3 separate regions of the Homo sapiens genome follow, and all the other regions are linked to region 1. Evidence: promoter capture Hi-C in human tissues and cell types (Jung and others, 2019). All regions are on one chromosome and are shown on one strand. The core of a region is centred on a gene start or on the middle of the fragment in contact, and the rest is flanking DNA. Distances in the headings are between cores, read along the strand shown. Region 1 holds the start of TNRC6A (trinucleotide repeat containing adaptor 6A). Region 2 overlaps LCMT1-AS1 (LCMT1 antisense RNA 1). Region 3 overlaps ARHGAP17 (Rho GTPase activating protein 17).

Region 1 (3,191 bases), core at 509-3,008:
GTGCCCACTACATTTTATATTTTGTAAACCTGATTTTTTTTTTCAAAAAAGTGTTTTTTATATGCTCATCGCAAAAAAGAAAAAAACAGATACACTAAAAGAAGAAAATGAAAAAAAGTCATAATCAGTTAACGTTTTGGTGCATATGTTTCATGACTTTCTGTGCATTCATTCACTAGCTTAACCTATCGGAGAGGACAGGAACCCAACATGTCTAGGGAAGTTTTGTTTGTTTTTAACGGGAGAGATTCAAGCATGTTGTAAAGCCAGTTGAAGCTGGGCGCGGTGGCTCACGCCTGTAATCCCAACACCTTGGGAGGCCGAGGGGGGCGATCACCTGAGGTCAGGAGTTCAAGACCAGCCTGGCCAACATGACGAAACCCCGTCATTACTAAAAATACAAAAATAGCTAGGCGCAGTGGTGCGTGTCTGTAATCCCAGCTACTTGGGAGGCTAAGGCAGGAGAATTGCTTGAACTCGGGAGGCGGAGGTTGCGGTGAACGGAGATCGCGCCACTGCACTCCAGCCTGGGAGACAGAGCGAGACTCCGCCTAAAAAAAATGATAATATAATAAAAAAATAAAAAAAAAAGCCAGTTGAAGAACTTAGGTTAGAAAAAGGAGAATGGGATGATCCACAGAGTGGGGTTTCTGAGAAAGTAAAGGTTATAGATTTTAAGCACAGAGGAGGAATTATCTTTAAATTAGAAGAAAAAGCTTGATGAGAGGTTGGAAAGAACACACGCAAGTGAAAATATGTATCTTACTGTATCTACATGTATGTGTATTGTTGTATCTACCTGCAGATATGTATGTCTTATTGTATCTACATGTAGGTATGTATGTATACTTTTAATGTACACATATGCATCTGTGTCTACATATATACATATCTTAGTCTATCTACATGTATGTATCTTACTGTGTCTACACTAAGATGTTTCTTACTGTGTGAGCTACGTTGGAACCTGCTTTTTCATTTATTCTATTGCAACCATTTCCTCCATGCCGGGATTATTCCTCCACATCATTTTTACAGTGTCCTAATACATGCCAGTAGCTGTTTTTGAAGCCATCTAGTAGCGCTGGACATTTTGGCTGTTTGCAATTTTTCACCATCATCAATACCACAGCTTAGTATCTCGAAGGTGAAATATTTGCAGATACCCAGAATTATTTCCTGAGCAGAAAATCCGTGCAGGCGGAACTGCTGAGTCAAAGGTCGGTGGATAAAAATCGCTTTTAAGCCTCACAACCCGCCTCAGGTATGCATTCTTTACCTGAGGAGGAACAGAGAAGCAGAGAGGTTAAATAACTGGCCCAAGGTCAAAAATAATTAGAAGTGGCTGAATTCAAAAGCCGCGCGGGCTCATCAGGCTGCAGTTGGGGTAAAATTTGCGTTTTAGGCAATTTTTTTTTTTTTTTTTTTTGGCGTGTGTCAGTGGGGGAGGGGCCGGGCGGCGGGTAGGAAACTTGTGTCGCAGCAAAGAAGGAGGAGGAGGGGAGGGACTCCCCTCCTCGGTCAGACCGGAGCCGGCCGCACCGAAAAAGGTTGGACTCGGGACTCCGCAGGCCCCCCCAGCCACTCCGCGGGGCGCCTCGGAGGCTGTGACCTCCAGGGAGGTCCGGCTGGGTGCAGCGTGACACGCCGGGGCGGTTGCCAAGGACCTGCCCAATCTGCGGGTCCAGTTGCTAGGGCCTCCATCTTGGGGGCCAGTGGCCGTGGCGCCCCCGGAAGGGGTTGCCGAGTGGGGCATTCACTTCCGGTCTGGGGCCTGCGGCGGCGGCGGTGTCGGCGGCGGCGGCGGCGGCGGCGGCGGCGGCGGCAGCGGGTCGGTGTAGAAAATGGCGCTGGTGCAGCGGCTCGGGCCTCTCCCCGCGGCGCTGCGGAGGGCTTGAGGCTCGCGAGCCTCCTTCGCCGCGCCCCACTTGCTCGTGCACTTTACACACATGAGGTGAGCGGAACAAGGGCCTCCCTCCGGGCGGGAGGAGCCGCGGGCGCTGCCGCAGGGCCCGCAACCCGCGGCGGCGGCAGCAGAGGCGGCGGCGCCGGGCGTCCCCGAGACTTCGGGCCTCGGCGGGAGGGCGCAGGCTGCGTTGCTGCGGAGGCCGAGCGGGCGGCCCGGGGGAGCCTCGCTGCGCCGCGCCGCGGGGGCCAGGCCGGGGTTGCGCCTCGCCCGCGCCGCGGGACCGCAGTCCGGGCTGCAGCCCCGCAGCTTTGTGAGTCCCCCTCCCCCCGTCCTCTCCCCTCCCCCATCCGGCCCCGGCGCGAGCCTCTGCCGCAGCAGCTCCGTTTTCACGCGCATCTCGTTTTTGTGTGTGTGTTTTTGTTTTGTTTTTGTTTTTGTTTTTTTGTTTCAGAGAATTGGAAGCTAAAGCTACCAAAGACGTAGAAAGAAATCTTAGCAGGTAAGATGGGCGAGCTTTCCGTCTCCCGCCCCACGATAATCGTATATTTCTACTCCGATTCGCCTTTTCTGGGTTGAGAAGTTCCCCCGTGACATTTTCTTCCGCACCCGGAGAGCAGACATTCGGGAGAAGCGGCCTGGGGGAATACTGGAGGGATTGCGGGGAGATGCGTAATTACGCGTGTGTTTCTTTCTTTAAAAAAAAAAAAAAAAAGCGCAAAGCAATTCTTGTAAACTTAGTTAAAGCATTCTCACCCTTTTAGAATTTAATTAGGGGACTTGTGCATTAATTACTATTGTAAATGGTTGCAGGCATTGTGTGACTCATGATTGAGGCGGCCCTTATGGCGGGCTGTCAAACTGTTTTGGCTTCCCCGTTATTACTTTGTAGCTCAAATTGTTGCTTTTATAAAAAGATACTATGTGTTCGCATTCCCCCCCGCCCCCCCCCCCCCCCCATACATTGTAGTCAGGCGGATTCTGTTGCATTGGACACAGTTTTGTCCTTGAACTTTACCAAGCATAAGCTGCGTTTTGTTTTCCTTCGAAACTCCATTTCTGTCCATGTTCGGTGTGTGCTCTTTTTATCAGCTGGTAAAATAATTAAAAATCTTTTCTCCAGAAGAGGTTATCGTTCCTGTTGGGCCCTGCTGCTTTTGCATCACCGTGAAGGGAGAATTTTTTTTTTTTTTTAAACGATGTCTTTATGGAATGGAAATATTTAGCTTCATTGAGCTGTAATTGCTTAAGCATCAAGGAATTGTACTGTATTTAACTCCTTTTC
Region 2 (3,191 bases), core at 402-2,901, 380 kb after region 1:
GGGACTCGGAAGACTGGGAACTCTCCCAGTGGACTGTCTCTCTTTGGACCTGCCCAAAGAGTGAAACCCCTGGATGTAGCCAAATCTGCAGCCACACTACTCTTGGACTCTTGTGATTACTTAGGAGACAACTAATTCCTATCTTTGCTTGAAGAAGTTTTAGGTTTTCTTTATGGCCAAGAGACCTAATCAATACAAGTAGTATTTGAAAGCAGTGTTTAAAGACGGATGACAAAGTCTCTGCTCAGATTTTTCATCTCTGGGTAGCTTTTGTTACCTCCCTCCATCTAATGACAGCTAGGTTTTGTTCAGTGCATTAGCTATCCCTCCATAAGCACACATCTTCCGTATATAAATTATTTTTGTTTGCCTATGTTTCTTTTCAAGCATTCAAGCAGTACCAAAGGAACATGGAGAAGTAGCTGTCTCCAAATCCAAGAGGAAGAAGACTTTTTAAACTGGCACAAGGTGTCTCCCAGTTCTAAATTTCTAAATGTCAAGAACTTGCAGCAGCAGTCAAGTTCCTAGGAATACTGGTTTCTGAGACTGCACCACCTCCGAATTCCCTCGCAGGCGTTCTGAAATTCACTAAGCAAATCCGACTGGCTTTCATATATCCCTTTATTTCTTGCTACCATGCACTTAAAGGACTCCCAACAGCGGGTCAACCCGGAAAGTCTGACAATGCTGCCCCCCACAGCACAGCGCTCGGCACAGCGTTAGGGACAGAAGTCATCGGAGTTTTAGCACAGGGCAGCGGTCCCAGGCTGGCTGTGTCCTCCGGAAGAGAGGAGAAGCATCGGGTGTAGTCCTCGCAGGGCAATGCTCGCCGGGGTAGGGACAATGGGCAGGGGGCACCCGAGGGGTTGCTACAGAGGAGGCAGCGGCCCGTCCCAGATGGTCGCCAAGGACCAGGGGGCGATTGAGCGGCAGCGGGCGTCCCGCTGGCCTCGGGCTGGGCTGTGGTTCGGTCCAGAGCCGACCGGCCCATAGTCAGGTCGGCCACCTGCTGATGAGGTTGAACTGCTTCTTCAAGGCAGCGGCGGCGGCAGCCCGCGGGGCGCCGCCTGGCAGGTAGGGCTACACCCAGACGGCTCCTACATGGTTCACAGCTGAGGTGACCGGTGGCTGCGACGGCTGCTGTAGCTACCCGGGCCATTGACCTCGCTCTCTCGCGTCACTTCCGGCGCGCCGTCCACCCGCCCTCTTGGCCGACCGTTCGGGGCCGAGGCCAGTCGAGCCGAGTCCAGCTGGACCGATCGGAGCCGAGCCCAGACGAGCCCGATCTGGCAAAGATCGCGAGGACCAGGGCGCAGAGCAAAGTGGCCTCTGCGTGACTTTGCCCCAGCCCTTGGTACCTCAGGTTCAGCGACGCCATCCACCTGCCCTCTGGCAGATGGTGGCTGAGAGGTCCTTGAAACAGGCAGAACATATTAGCTATAATAGTCAAATATTTACCACATTGAAATTTAGTGGGATTCTCATGTATTTTAAGGGTCCCCTCCACTCTTCCAAATTCCAAGTCACGTGGTTTTCGTCTCCATCAGATCACTCGTGGTGTGGATCTTCAGGGAAGTTATGGGGAAAGGGAGACCAGCAGCCTGCCCCGTGGGTGGCCATCCTCCTCCCCACGGGAGTGCCAGGCAATCTCCCCAGTGCTGGGGTCCTCTCCTGGTAAGTTCATTTTGTTTAGGGTCCAGCTGGGGCCATTGAACCCCTTGACCAAATATGCAAGCAACACTGCGAAGCAAAGCCCAGGGTTGTCAGTTTGGGGTTTTCCATCGAGAGAGAAGTTGAACAACAAATGCCATTCCCTGTCCATTTTATTTTTTTCATCATCAGTGACTAGGCCACTGACTGCCAGGGATGTGCATTTCTTAGGGGTCAGAAGAACAGAGAGCAGCAGCAGCGCAACAGTGCCACAGGAAACATCACTACCCTTGCTAGAACAATTACTGTTAGGACACAGGCAGGGAGCCATTCCTAAATCTTCCTGGGGTGATGGGTGATGGTCTCCTTCCTTGCCACAAACAACATAAAGGATTGTTCCCATGACTGTGCTGGGGGCACACTTTCCTAACAGTGTCTCTATGGCTGTCCCAAGCAGCTAGTGATGGTCACAAGGCTAGACGCAGTGACCAAAGAGTTCTAATCTGAACATCAGTGAGTAGAACTCAAGCACCCACTGGTTAGGATGTTGTGTTGCTGCTGCCCCCAGGTGGGAGCCTCAGAGACCACGTGGCGGACACACAGGCCACACCTGATGGCACCTACCAAGTTCAAGTGTGGCAAAAAAGAGAGCTCTGCTAATAAACTGAGCAACTTCCATTCAACTCCTGGGATTCATTCTGATTGGAACAACCTGGTTAGCCCTTCCCCCAATCCCCACCACCCTCTGAAGCATGACAAGGTGATTTTGGGTGCCAATTGGCCAGACCTTGGCAAGTTTCCACCCCTAGAGTCAGGCAAGGAGCCTTGCTTTTTTTTCTTTTTCTTTTTCTTTTTTTCGAGACAGACTTTCGCTCTTGTTGCCTAGGTTGGAGTGCAGTGGCACGATCTCGGCTCACTGCAACCTCTGCCTCCTGGGTTTAAGCGATTCTTCTGCCTCAGCCTCCTGAGTAGCTGGGACTACAGGCGCGCACCACCATGCCCAGCCATTTTTTGTGTTTTTAGTAGAGATGGAGTTTCACCATGTTGGCCAGGCTGGTCTTGAACTCCTGACCTCATGATCCACCCGCCTCGGCCTCCCAAATCCCGCCTCGGTGACTGGGATTACAGGTGTGAGCCACCACGCCTGGCCAGGAGAGAAGCTTAGTTTTCCATAAGAAGCTGTAGCTTTTTTTTTTTTTTTTTGGAGACAGTTTCGCTCTTGTTGCCCAGGCTGGAGTACAATAGCGCAATCTCGGCTCACCACAACCCCTGCCTTCAGGGTTCAGGCAATTCTCCTGCCTCAGCCTCCGGAGTAGCTGGGATTACAGGCATGCGCCATCATGCCTGGCTAATTTTTATTTTTAGTAGAGATGGGGTTTCACCATGTTGGTCAGGCTGGTCTCGAACTTCTGACCTCAGGTGATCCACTTGCCCCGGCCTCCCAAAGTACTGGGATTACAGGCATGAGCCACCATGCCAGCTTTTTGTTTGTTTTTTGAGACGGAGTTTTGCTCTTGTCCCCTAAGCTGGAGTTCAATGGC
Region 3 (3,191 bases), core at 267-2,766, 280 kb after region 1:
AATGCAACCAGGGGCTGTGAATTTAAATACTACAAATACTTAACAAATGGATCAGAAAATAGCAATCACTACCCAAGTGATTTGAAAATAGAAGAGCTGGAGAGAGTTGCTCCCCTGCTAAGAATCACATAATGGTTGCCTTTTTCCCAATTTACAAACAAAAAAAAAATATTAAGTTAAAGGATAAACTCTTCAAGTGTTAGGTTTCCCCTAGGACTATCTCTACCCTTGGAATTCTCTATCACCTGCCAGTTATTAAGATCACTCAAGGCCAGGCACAGTGGCTCACGTCTGTAATCCCACAACTTTGGGAGGCCAAGATGGGAGAGTTGTTTGAGGCCAGGAGTTGGAGACCAGCCTGGGCAACATAGCAAGACTCTGCCTCCATGAAAAAATTTGTTTAAAAATGATTGCTCACGTTACATGCCCAGCGGAGTCCTCACTGAACCCCCAGGCACATCTCAGAGACTCCCCTGCTTTGTGCCTGTGCCCACACTCCCTCCATCCAAGCACTCACTGTATCTGGTGAAGTAGAAACACTTCGGTGTATTTCCCCAAAGTACCGCTGGCCATGGTTTCAAATGGTCACTCCAGCCCAGGCATGTGAAAGTATCCAATGACCACGTGATATCCAAGCTGCTTGATTTATACATATTCACACTGACAGGTAACAGCTGATGGGTGCTTTTAATAATTTCTGTACATTTATTTAAGATTTATATTCATTTGAGCACCTGTTTACTTGGTCTGTGATTTCTAATTTAAACTCTTTAAGAAGTATAAATTTGGCCAAACCATGTGGAAGAACACTGAGTAACTACAGAAGAAATGCTAATGAAACATTAAAGGAGAGATCAAATTGACTACTAAACCAAAAGGTATCTCTGATAAGGAAGACGTCCAAAAAGAAGAGCTGTGGGAAAGGAGAGGAAGAGAGAAACATCTTGGGATAATCAAAAGGAAGTAGCCAATGCAAATAATCAATAAGCTGTAATTAACACAGAGGAAACACAGTCTCACAAGATGCATGGCTGAAATGAACTGAATATTGTTTGTTTTTGAGATGGAGTCTCACTCTGTTGCCCAGGCTGGAGTGCAGTGGTGCGATCTTGGCTCACTGCAACCTCGGCCTCCTGGGTCCAAGCCATTCTCCTGCCTCAGCCTCCTGAGTACCTGGGATTACAGGCGCCTGCCTGCCATGCCCAGCTAATTTTCGTATTTTTAGTAGAGATGGGGTTTTACCATATTGGTCAGGCTGGTCTCAAACTCGTGACCTCAGGAGATCCACCCGCCTTGGCCTCCCAAAGTGCTGGGATTACAGGCGTGAGCCACCATACCCAGCCTGAATATTGTTTTTATATCAAACATGCCTATTATTTTATTTGCTATAAATAATAGGCTCTACCTATTTAAAAGACAGTTTCTTATAGAAATCTTAGATTTTTTATAGAATCAGCTTTATCTTCTGAAACTTGTATTAAATCTGTACCTAGTCATGAATGTGCAAGGTTTCATCACTGTATCTGTTGAGGAACATATCTATGAACAAGAATGCTAACTTGTTTATATTAAAGTACATAAATACATCAAAGAATGGCATTAAGATTTCATTAACAGCACCTAAGATCTGCTAGAATAGATAAAACTGGTTACATTCAGATTATCTGTTTGTAGCTCTGTCTCCACATTCAAGTCCCCAGGGATCAATTATATTTTTAACCCCAGCCCCTATCATTTGACAGGTTCTCAAGAGACATTTGTTGAACTAAATTGGTAACTGAGCAATGAAACTGATAACTAAACGTTAATTCCATGACAAACAAATGACACATACAGAGAAAACTCATATAAAGAAATACAAATGTAAGAACACATTCATTTTGAACTTAGTGGAAAAAATTTAAATAGATAACAAATTTTTTAAGGACAATATCTAATGCAACTAAGGTGATGGTGAAATGTGATATTCATCATGTCATGCATAATGACACACATTATTGCGCAACATCACTTTCTGCACTACAAACTAAATGACGGCATTATCATCTTAGGAGACAACCTGGCAATACTGTCATGATATAAACATTAATTTCCTATAAATCTAGTGATTCTAACCTCTAGAGAATTCATCATGAAAAAGTAATTTAGAGGTGAGCAGCTATAATCATTAAAATGGTGACCGACCATGTCAAACAGAAGGTTGGGGAATTGTAGATACAATCCAGCTCAAGCCAGCTCAAGGCAGCAAAGCCAACTGGAAGACAAATTTGACTCCAAGTGAAAAATAATGAGCACCTAATTAAGGTAACAGGAAGGATGGCCTCTGGGAAGCAAAGATGAAGTCAACAGATAATCAAGGTCAGTTCCAGACCAGCCTGGCCAACATGGTGAAACTCTGTCTCTACTAAAAATTAAAAAAAAAAAAAAATTAGCCGGACATGGTGGTGTGCGCCTGTAGTCCCAGCTACTCAGGAGGCTGAGACAGGAGAATCGCTTGAACCCGGGAGACAGAGGTTGCAGTGAGCCGAGATCATGCCACTGCACTCCAGACTGAGTGACAGAGAGGGACTCCGTCTCAAAAAAAAAAAAAAAAAGAAAAAGATAATCAAAGAGGCAGAATTTCCAGTCTCCTCACCTGACTGAGATGATGGAGGAAAAAGAATGGGACTGACAGGTGACTAGGGAGGGTGTGAGGGCATTTAATGCCCTAGGGCAGGGGTCACATGCTTCTTATGAAGTGCCAGAGGATAAATACCATAGGCGTTGCAGGCCATATGGGTCACTGTTGCAACTATTCAACCCTGCCACTGTAGTGAGTGGCTGTGTTCCAGTAAACTTTTTCACAAAGCAAGCGGTGGGCTGGATTTACCCTGCAGGCCAAAGTCTCGTGACTCACAGACTAGAAGATAGAGGGAAATGAAGCCAATTTGAGGAAGAAGTTCATGGGTTCAATTTTATCAGGCCATGTCAGCAGAGATTTTTCAAGAGAGAGATGATAGCATCATTCTAGGGATAAAGAGACCCCAGGGCTGGAGGCATAAAACTGTCACCATGAGGTGATAGTTATGGGGCTGAGATCACCCAGGGGAACGGTCTGAGAAGAAAGGAGATCGAGGACATTTCTCTGTCGCAATATAACAGTGAATACCCAATGTTACTTCAGATCACTATGGCCCTGGAAAGGAATGAAC

What was found. The method cuts DNA at HindIII sites, captures the fragments that hold promoters and counts their contacts. A contact is called where the count stands out against the background at its distance.
Region 2: a contact is called between a fragment that was not itself captured here and the fragment with the promoter of TNRC6A in region 1, in 1 of the 25 tissues and cell types used here (dorsolateral prefrontal cortex).
Region 3: a fragment that was not itself captured here is called in contact with the fragment with the promoter of TNRC6A in region 1 in 1 of the 25 tissues and cell types used here (lymphoblastoid cells).

Annotation. Positions count from the first base shown.
Region 1 is chr16:24,727,893-24,731,083 of GRCh38, forward strand. It overlaps TNRC6A (trinucleotide repeat containing adaptor 6A), which reads left to right and starts at 1,759. Exons shown (of 25, transcript NM_014494.4): 1 at 1,759-1,954; 2 at 2,361-2,408. The coding sequence starts at 1,950. RefSeq lists a silencer at 1,788-2,097. The HindIII fragment of the contact is 13,221 bases long and covers 1-3,191 here.
Region 2 is chr16:25,105,966-25,109,156 of GRCh38, forward strand. The region is part of intron 1 of LCMT1-AS1 (LCMT1 antisense RNA 1); the gene reads right to left. Among named protein-coding and RNA genes, the nearest start is that of LCMT1-AS1, 4.0 kb to the right of the region's middle. RefSeq lists enhancers at 555-1,056, 1,057-1,556, 1,061-1,260. The HindIII fragment of the contact is 3,214 bases long and covers 45-3,191 here.
Region 3 is chr16:25,003,873-25,007,063 of GRCh38, forward strand. The region is part of intron 1 of ARHGAP17 (Rho GTPase activating protein 17); the gene reads right to left. Among named protein-coding and RNA genes, the nearest start is that of ARHGAP17, 9.9 kb to the right of the region's middle. The HindIII fragment of the contact is 4,980 bases long and covers 1-3,191 here.